Regions from separate parts of the Homo sapiens genome. Here regions 1 and 2 are each linked to region 3. The links are contacts of gene promoters, found by promoter capture Hi-C in blood cells and fetal thymus (Javierre and others, 2016). All regions are on one chromosome and are shown on one strand. Each heading gives the region's core, a stretch centred on a gene start or on the middle of the fragment in contact. The rest is flanking DNA. Distances are from core to core; before and after follow the strand shown. Region 1 overlaps HYCC1 (hyccin PI4KA lipid kinase complex subunit 1). Region 2 holds the start of KLHL7 (kelch like family member 7). Region 3 holds the start of IL6 (interleukin 6).

Region 1 (3,052 bases), core at 321-2,820, 270 kb before region 3:
ATTCGTCTAGAAAATGTAAGGTGCTACCTTGACTTATTTTCCTCTCGTCTATTCCCTGCTTTTCCTTTGCCATCTGGATTACAATTGCCTTGAGGACACAGATCATATTTTACTATTCTTTTGCTAATGGTGCAAACTAATAGAAACACTTTGCATTATACTCAGCAGGCAATCAAGGGCTTGCTGAATTATTAATGTTGCAATTTGAACATATACTAGTATTGACTTTTTGCATATACGACCTCCCATTCTATGTTTGTTTTTGCTACTTCTGTTTCTTTGCTCTTACTCTGACTCTGCCCAGCCTACTGTCTGGATAAATTATATGAACGGGCTGTCGACTTGACATCCTGTTCAGTGAATATGTAGAAAGCATTTCTAATCACCATGTTATTTAATATGCAATTGTGTGATAATCATGTTAATGAATGTGATTGAGGTAATTATTATAGTTCAGCACTTTTACACTGATCTCTTAAAATCTGTTAACATAAACTTTATCATTTGTATGTTAGTTATCAGGGCTTACTGAAGTTTGATTCACTGAGGTAATACTTGAATCACTTAGTATGTGCTGTAATTATATTTTGTAAAAGGTGGTGCAAACATTTTGGAAAGCTTTATTTCAGCAATAACTGCTCTTGTAGATTTTTACCCAATATTAAATGTAAAATAATTTGTTTGTGATATTTTTATATTTAGTGAAATACATAACATATTAATGGACTTTTAAGATTTCTTATAACATTCTAATAAGAGGTTTTCTAAGTCAAGATTATCTGCATCAATCAGTCTTTAAAATAATCAGATGATGCTGTTTTGGTTCACAGATGCAGTGCCAGTTCTCTCCTGGCAGCTTACCTTGCCAATGCATGCATTTCATTAATAAGAGCCCCAAGTTTTTCCTAGGTAGGGTGTAAAAGCTGAGGAGTGAAAGGAAGGTAGAGAAGAGAAGCATAGGCAAAGACATGGAGCCTGGAGTGGCATGGATTATTTTGGAGAATAGTGTTAAGTAAAATTTGGATAGGTAAATTATGACCATATTTTAGGGAAAGTTTGATGTAGAAGATTTGTGAGGTCTGATGTCATGGTGTGTTCAGGAGAAAAGAAGTTTCAGCAAGATTATATGGCAGCAACATGCATGGTGCACTGGAAAAGGGAAGAAATCAGGAGCCAGAAGGCTGTGTGATCAGCAGATGCAGAGGAAATAAGGGCCCAGACTCAGGGCGTTGCTGTGGAGATGGAGAGCAGATGGTAAATTTGACGGGCATTATAAAGGGTGAAATTTATTCTTCTATTCAATAAATATTTATTAGATACTTGCTGTATGTTACTTATGCTTATAGTATCTGGACTGAAATTTGCCTGTAGTTACTAATACAGTTTAAAACTTAAAAATTATGTTATATAATTTTTATTTGAAAAAAATTTTAAAAAATGTTGAACCACTGAGTCATGTGCTATGTTAATGTCAATAAGAAGTGCTCATCGTAGTGCCATAGTTCCCAGAGATCTCACCATTCTGTCTGCTCTTATCTAAAAGAAATCTAAATTGTTAATAAATTGTACATGATCTTAGTCAAGGCTATTTGAATGCTGGCTCAAAAAAGAGGGAGAATATTTGCAATAGAAATCCAAGAGCAGTAACTGTTGGCCTCAGAAGTTTCATAGCATTCTGTTTGCTGCATTCTTTTGGTCAACATGGTTATTAAAAAATAGTTCTTCCTAACTTCTCTTATTAGAGTCCAAATCAGATATCCTTTCCCTGGAAAAAATGTTCTTCTGAAGTCCTGGAGGATCTTGTCTATGACCATACCACCTTGAACGTGCCTGATCTTGTCTGAAGTCATGGAGGATCTGAGAAGAACAGGAAGATAGAAATGGGAAATGAGAAGAAAGAACTTCTTACCTTCTAATTGTTCTAGCTTTTCCAACAGAAACACACTGGGCTGGTTGCCACAGCACACTGATATCCCAACATGATCTTATTTGTCCTTGGGGTAGGCAAAAGATGGTTTAGCCAAAAACCATTTTATAGAGTAAAAACCTATGTTCTATTCTTGATAATCAGACACTTGTTTTGTGATTTTTGGGGAAAATAGGCCTAAGTAATAGGCCTTTGGAAAGACTTCCCAAACCTCTCTTACTATGAATTATATTACTTCTCCTGGTGCCTTGAGAGGCAGCTTTATTTACTTGATGACCTAGGTAGGCAGTGAGGCATCAACACTTCTTTTTAAGCAACAGCACATATACTGTCCTCCTTCACAATTGATTGGTCAGTTTCTAAGCAGCAAAATCCTAAAATTAAATTAATTTTATTCTGTAACATAATCTGAACATTTCTCTCCATTCTGTTTTCCTGAAATTCACCCAGGAATTCTTGATAATCTTCTGGTAGCGCTTAATTTAACTACAGCAATGGCCTCATTGCATAGGAGAGAAGTTTAAAATTTCGTGATGTGTCACAATCCATTTATAGAAATTTGGTTGCTCTATAAATTTATAGAAACTTAAGCTTCATAATGATATATAAAACAAATGGTTATAAAAAGTTTTATAGTAGTTTGTCGTTAGTGCTTAATGGTGAAGGGGATGATGTAAAAGATAGGAATAAGGAAATTTTTAGAGTTTTACAGTGAAAGTTACAAATACTTTTAAAATATTCTTATAAAATAATTAAAATGTTATATGTCTCTGATGACAACACTAAAAGATAAATTTTGGTAATTGTTATTAATAACATAATGTGGGAATTGAAGAATAAGACATTTGACTTAGAAAGGTTTTATTGTACATTGAAAATATAAAAAATTAATGTTATACAGACTTATTGGGCTAGTGAAATACTACATAGACTCCTAGCAAGCCTTCTAATGTAATTTTAAATATTCTGCTCCGGAACATGTTTGGCAAAAATAGGAAGTTAGTTACACAGCAGGAAACATGTATTTTAATTGTCTCTTTTATCTTTGAGAAGAATAAAGTTTTTACAAATGCAAGTATATTTTGAATATTACTAGAGATGTCTAATTAGATTTATAAAGCTTGC
Region 2 (3,052 bases), core at 303-2,802, 380 kb before region 3:
TGTAGATACAAAAAGGTTTACATGAAAGGAACATGAATTTGAAAATAGATACATGAAAGTCAGTTACATAAATTAACGAATTCAGGCATTCACAGTACTTCAGCACAAAGGCCAGGCCAGGAAAGATTTAAAAGCATTCCCACAGACTGCACTGGTGCACTGTAGCAGGAGCTGGTGAACAAAGACAAAATCCCAGCAGTCAGCGTTTGCTTATAGAAACCAGAAGTTAATATCTTCATAAAAATCTTAAATTCCTCTACTGTTGCCCATATTCCCAGCAGAACCACCAGACAAAGCAAACTAGGTTTTGCAGTTACACATAACTCACATCCTGCTTTGTCCCCTTGAAACAGGATCCCAGTCAACAAAACCCAAACATTCCCACAAATCTACTTAGATGTGTATTATCTATAAATAAAGCTTACAGAAAGGAAAAAGTGACTTTCTATGCTTATCGGTGTAGATGTTATGGAATTAAAAAAAAAAAAAGCCTCTTTGTTTCACCTTCGCCAGCGTTAAAATCCGTTCTTTTCATAACCCACCTTTCGCCGATGTGCTGCAGAATTTCACGAATGCACCACACACCAAGGACAGAACAAAGAGCTCCTCTTAATAACAGAGGCGCACAGTGCCCTTAGAAGATGGCATGGTATTTATCGATGGCTGCTTCTGCTCTAAATTAGCACGAACAGGAGGACTCCTCTTCAACTAGCTCCACCGGGGAACACAGGAGGGGGCGGGGATCCTTATTTAAGAGCAGCTGATGTCAGGCCAGCAACTCTCCTCCCTTTGGGGGCTTCGGTTTGGGCTATGCCAACGGGTTTCTTCACACAAGATCTCACGGCACCTTAAAACGGCTCGCCAATGGAAGGATCCTCGCCCCACAAAGAGATAACTAGGGCAGAGCTGTTACACAACCGATACCCGACGGCGAAAGCCAGCCTGAGGAGTCCCCCAGGAGTCTGACTTGGGAGCTACATCCTCGGCAGACGAGAAGCACTTTTGCTCGAGAATTGTTTTACGCGCCCCTCTACCAACTGCGGAATCGCTCGCCTGCGAAAACGGAAGGAGGGGCGAGGACAGAGAAAGAGGGGCGCGATCCACAGGGCGCGGGGTTCCACCCCGGGAACCAGGGGCCCGAGCCCCGGACCACCTCCCACCGTCGTCCGTCACTCCCACAGAGGCGGTACCTGTTTCCGCATGTTATTCATGACGCCCATGAAACCCGCCAACAATTTAGCTTCTTCCCGAGCAGCAAGTTTCTTCTCGGTCTTCTTCTTGCTGCTCTTCTCCACCCCAGAGGCTGCCATCCTCCCTCAGCTCGGTTCACGCCCGGGGCTCGCCGGGCCGGGCGAGGGGTCGCACTCTCTGGGCACACTGGGGATTCTATCGACCAAACACGGCGATCGGCAGTGCAGCTGCAGCGCCCAGCTCTGGAACGCGCGGCAGGCGGCGGTGGCTCGGCCACTGCCGAAAGACAAGGCCGGGCGGCCCCCTTAGAAACGCTCAGGGAGCGACGCTACCAACTGGGCTGCGTCCCCGGGCAGAACCCGAGCCCTGCCCAGGAGCCTGCGCACTTCGCGCAAGGAGGCGGGGGCACTATGAGGAGAGTCAGGGGCGGGGCCTGACACGTCACAGTGGCGCGCCGTTCCGAGCAATGAGACTGCAGGCACAGGTGCGGCCGGATTCCCTGTCGCTGTCCCGCGCTGAGTGAATTTTGCCTCGGAGCTGGTCCGAGGTCGCGCCTGCTCTTTTGTGTGCCCAAGGCAGATTTCCAGGTTTCGGTTACGTGATTATCTTTTTTTTTTTTTTTTTTTTGATAATTGGGTTGTGGAACATGCAAAGGTGTCTCCCATCAGTGTAAGGCTTCATGGGACAGGGTCGGTGTTCAGTGCAGTATCTGAGCCTGGTGTATGGTAGGCGCTCAATAAATATTAAATGATGAAAGGATATTACTGCAAGTTAAAGTCATGTTACACGGAGCACAAGATTTATTTTCGTGGGATTCATAACGCAAGAGCACACAGTCCCGTTGGTGTCTCCTTGGCGTGCAATGAATGTCTGCCTAACTAGGCTGGCTTACTGTGTGTTTACAACTGAAATCAGTTGTCAGTCGGTTCTAGAAATCTTCAGTTAGGCTTCTCTAAGTGTTTTACGGGAACACGGAACTCAATCACAGCCCTCATGGAAATGTTTTTTGTAACCATATTCTTTCTACTGTATAGTAATATACAGGATTATTTGAAATTGTACATTATTTAACATTATGAAAACTTTATATCTCATTGGTTTTCCTCCTCGGTCTATATAGGACTATACAGAGACATTTTATGTAAAATAATTTACACCATTGAGGCTTTTTTTTTTTTTTTTGGAGGCAGGGTCTCGGCCCTGTCGCCCAGGCTGGGGGTGCGGTGCAGTGGCTAATCATAGCTCACTGAAGCCTCAGCACTCCTGGGCTCAAGCAATCCTCCCATCTCAGCCTCCCAAGTAGCTGAAACTACAGGCGTGCAACACCACTCTGGGCTAAGTTTTAATTTTTAAATTTTTTTGGTGGTGGTGGTGGTGGTGGTGGTGGTGGTGAAGAGGTCACACTATGTTGCCCAGGCTTGTCTCGAACTCCTGGTGTTATGCAATCCTCCCGCCTAGGCCTCCCAAAGTGCTGGGATTACAGGAATGAGCGGCCAGGCCTGGCCCACAGTATACTTTTCTTGTTGAGGACAAACCATATAGCATAATCCAGATGAAAGAGCAAGCTATATATACGCCTCAATTTTTACAAAAGAGTAAGATACTTATGTCTCTGTACTCTTTATCTTTCTTCTATTAATCTAGAGGTTCTCAGATGTGCCTCTATTTTAACTAGTTGATTTGGGGATTTCAGGTGAACCCTGGCAATAGGAATAATTTATTGTTAATAAAATTATAAATGAGAAAATTTTTCATTCACTTTATTAAATGACCCAGGACACTGAAGAAAAACGGAATAAATTTTTTTCTTTTTTTTTTAATTGAAAAGAAGTAGAAATCTGTCTTCTAACTCTAAGGCCTT
Region 3 (2,891 bases), core at 92-2,591:
TGGGGGCACACTTGGGTTCAGTTCCAAGCTCACCTGTGACTTTAGGTGTGTTACTTAATCCTGAGTCTCAGTTTCCTTATCTCCAAAAACCTTCCTTGCAAATTTGTTTTGAAGATTAGACACAATATTTATTTAAAGTGCCTGGCACACAGTAGATACTTAATAACAGCAATTTTGACAATAATTAGGAGAATATAATTCAAGCCATAGAATGTTCCAGCAGGAAGGATCTATGAGATCACCTAGTCCACGCCCAATTTTACTGATGGAGTCCAGAGGTGGTAGGGAATTTACCCAAGATCACAAGGCTGGTTTGGCAGAACCAGAATTCGAGTGTGGGCTCCCAATCTCCCCTCCTGTGTTCTTTTCTTTCTACCAAACAGGACCAAAATACCTTGCATTGAAAGTGGGGAGATGCTTTAACCTATTTATGATTTGCCACTTTGGTGGGCTCTGAGGTATGAATCTTAGCTGGAATGGCTTTGAGGAATCCTAGCCATTGAGTTTACATAACCAAAAAGTACTGCAACTGCTCTGAGAAGCTGAACATGCCTTTCAGGTGGCACTTTTCTAGTCCTTCCAAAGCCCGGGGGACAAAAAGGAGCTTCACAGACCTAATTTTTTGGAAAGGGAAAAGGAAGCCCTGAGAAGCAATAACCCTCAGCTCATGCCAAAGGTGGGCATGGATTTCAGACCCATTCTGCATTTTCCAGAAAGGAAAGGAACTTCCTGACACCAGCAAAGGATAAATACAGAAGTCAGTCTAGTCGGCCCCGTTGGCCTCAAATCTACAGTGCTCTAGAACCCAGCAAAGACCTCCTAATGCAGGCAGCCCCCGGCCACACGCAGGGGCAAGGGGAACGCATGCGCACCGGGCCCTTCAACCCCATCGCCAAGCCTACCCACCTCCTTTCTCAGGGCTGAGATGCCGTCGAGGATGTACCGAATTTGTTTGTCAATTCGTTCTGAAGAGGTGAGTGGCTGTCTGTGTGGGGCGGCTACATCTTTGGAATCTTCTCCTGGGGGTACTGGGGCAGGGAAGGCAGCAGGCAACACCAGGAGCAGCCCCAGGGAGAAGGCAACTGGACCGAAGGCGCCTGTGCCGGAGGGGAGCGAGCGCAGGGGTGAGCTGACAGCACAGCTGGGAGCCTGCCTCTGCTGCTGGCCGCCCGCCAGCCCTCCCTGGGCCACACACCCCTCCCTCACACAGGGCTCGACCGCCGCTGGCAGTTCCAGGGCTAAGGATTTCCTGCACTTACTTGTGGAGAAGGAGTTCATAGCTGGGCTCCTGGAGGGGAGATAGAGCTTCTCTTTCGTTCCCGGTGGGCTCGAGGGCAGAATGAGCCTCAGACATCTCCAGTCCTATATTTATTGGGGGTTGAGACTCTAATATTGAGACTCATGGGAAAATCCCACATTTGATAAATCTTTGTTGGAGGGTGAGGGTGGGGCCAGAGCGGGTGGGGCTGATTGGAAACCTTATTAAGATTGTGCAATGTGACGTCCTTTAGCATGGCAAGACACAACTAGGGGGAAAAGTGCAGCTTAGGTCGTCATTGAGGCTAGCGCTAAGAAGCAGAACCACTCTTCCTTTACTTTCTTTTTTTCTTTTATTAGTGACTCAGCACTTTGGCATGTCTTGACAAAGAGTAAAGCTGAAGTCATGCACGAAGTTTTACAAAGAGAAAAAAAATAAGCTAAAGCTATGTTTTTTGAAAAAAAAAAAATTTTTTTTCAGTGACCAGATTAACAGGCTAGAATTTAGCGTTCCAGTTAATTTGTATTTGTAAAAACCAAAGATGTTCTGAACTGAGTTTCCTCTGACTCCATCGCAGCCCCCCAAGCCTGGGATTATGAAGAAGGTAATACTACCAGTCATCTGAGTTCTTCTGTGTTCTGGCTCTCCCTGTGAGCGGCTGTTGTAGAACTGCCTGGCCATCCTCAAATTTCGTGCAGTTACTTCAAGGCGTCTCCAGGTGGAGTGTGTGACTCCTTTTTGCCACCGCGTGGCTTCTGCCACTTTCTTCACCTGCTTCAGCCCACTTAGAGGAGGTTGGCTGCTGCCCTGCCCTCTCCCAAGTGACCCCTTGGGAATCCTCCCAGTGAGGACTTTGCTCTCTGTGCCAGAGGTTTGCCTTGTGCTGCCAGTGCTCTCCCCATTGCCACTGAGTCTCTTCACCACTGTTTCACTGGGGCACCTGCATGGGCCCCAGGTCTCCTGGAGCCCTGAAATTACTGAAGCCCACTTGGTTCAGGGCAGAAAGGGGGAGAATACTACTCACCTCTTTGTTGGGGATGTCAAAGGAGGACCTTGTGGCATCTTGCAGAGTTTGTGTTTATCGCTCCCTCTCCCTGTAAGTCTTGATTTGAAATCAAAAGAAGCTAGAAGGAAACTACGGACGCAGGCACGGCTCTAGGCTCTGAATCTGCTTCCGCGTCGGCACCCAAGAATTTCTTATTGGGTCAAGCTGGTTCAGAAGCCCTCTTCCCTCAGGATGGTGTCTCTTGCAGGAGGATCCTTGGTCTCATGCAAATGGGCTCTAGACTAGGTTGTCCCTCCAGTCTCCAGAGACCCAGACAGCTCTGAGATGGCTTCAGGCTGAAACCAGACCCTTGCACAACACCAAAACACTTATTTACCAAACATGGTGTTACCTTCACAATCGGTTTCTTTGCTTTGCTAAGAAGAGATCTCTTCAAGATCGATAAAACAGTGACCTCTGTTGGGCATTTACTCAAGTTTTGTTTCGTGCATAACATTTCAGGACCCGCCTGTTGGGGAAAGTGAGGTCATCCATTCTTCACCGATTGTCTAAACAGAGACGGTGGTCCTCTGCCGCGGTGGGATTCTTTGGTGTGAAAATGAAAATGGGGGAGGATGGCTGGATGGT

The links. Contacts are between HindIII fragments. The CHiCAGO score rates a contact against its expected background, and 5 or more counts as called.
Region 1: a contact is called between a fragment that was not itself captured here and the fragment with the promoter of IL6 in region 3, in 1 of 17 cell types (total B cells). The highest score is 5.4, in total B cells.
Region 2: the fragment with the promoter of KLHL7 here is called in contact with the fragment with the promoter of IL6 in region 3 in 11 of 17 cell types (M2 macrophages, M1 macrophages, total CD4 T cells and 8 more); the score reaches 10.2 in M2 macrophages.

Annotation. Positions count from the first base shown.
Region 1 is chr7:22,996,852-22,999,903 of GRCh38, reverse strand. The region is part of intron 1 of HYCC1 (hyccin PI4KA lipid kinase complex subunit 1); the gene reads left to right. Among named protein-coding and RNA genes, the nearest start is that of HYCC1, 16 kb to the left of the region's middle. The HindIII fragment of the contact is 1,900 bases long and covers 621-2,520 here.
Region 2 is chr7:23,104,285-23,107,336 of GRCh38, reverse strand. KLHL7 (kelch like family member 7) reads right to left here and starts at 1,552. Exons shown (of 11, transcript NM_001031710.3): 1 at 1,191-1,552. The coding sequence starts at 1,310. It overlaps KLHL7-DT (KLHL7 divergent transcript), which reads left to right and starts at 1,634. Exons shown (of 3, transcript NR_046220.1): 1 at 1,634-1,778; 2 at 3,020-3,052. RefSeq lists enhancers at 606-685, 391-1,377, 1,166-1,445, 1,566-1,755, 1,378-2,364. The HindIII fragment of the contact is 5,093 bases long and covers 423-3,052 here.
Region 3 is chr7:22,725,650-22,728,540 of GRCh38, reverse strand. It overlaps IL6 (interleukin 6), which reads right to left and starts at 1,341. Exons shown (of 5, transcript NM_000600.5): 1 at 1,260-1,341; 2 at 907-1,097. The coding sequence starts at 1,278. It overlaps IL6-AS1 (IL6 antisense RNA 1), which reads left to right and starts at 921. Exons shown (of 2, transcript NR_131935.1): 1 at 921-973; 2 at 1,836-2,891. RefSeq lists an enhancer at 692-1,891 and a silencer at 1,877-1,926. The HindIII fragment of the contact is 10,105 bases long and covers 1-2,891 here.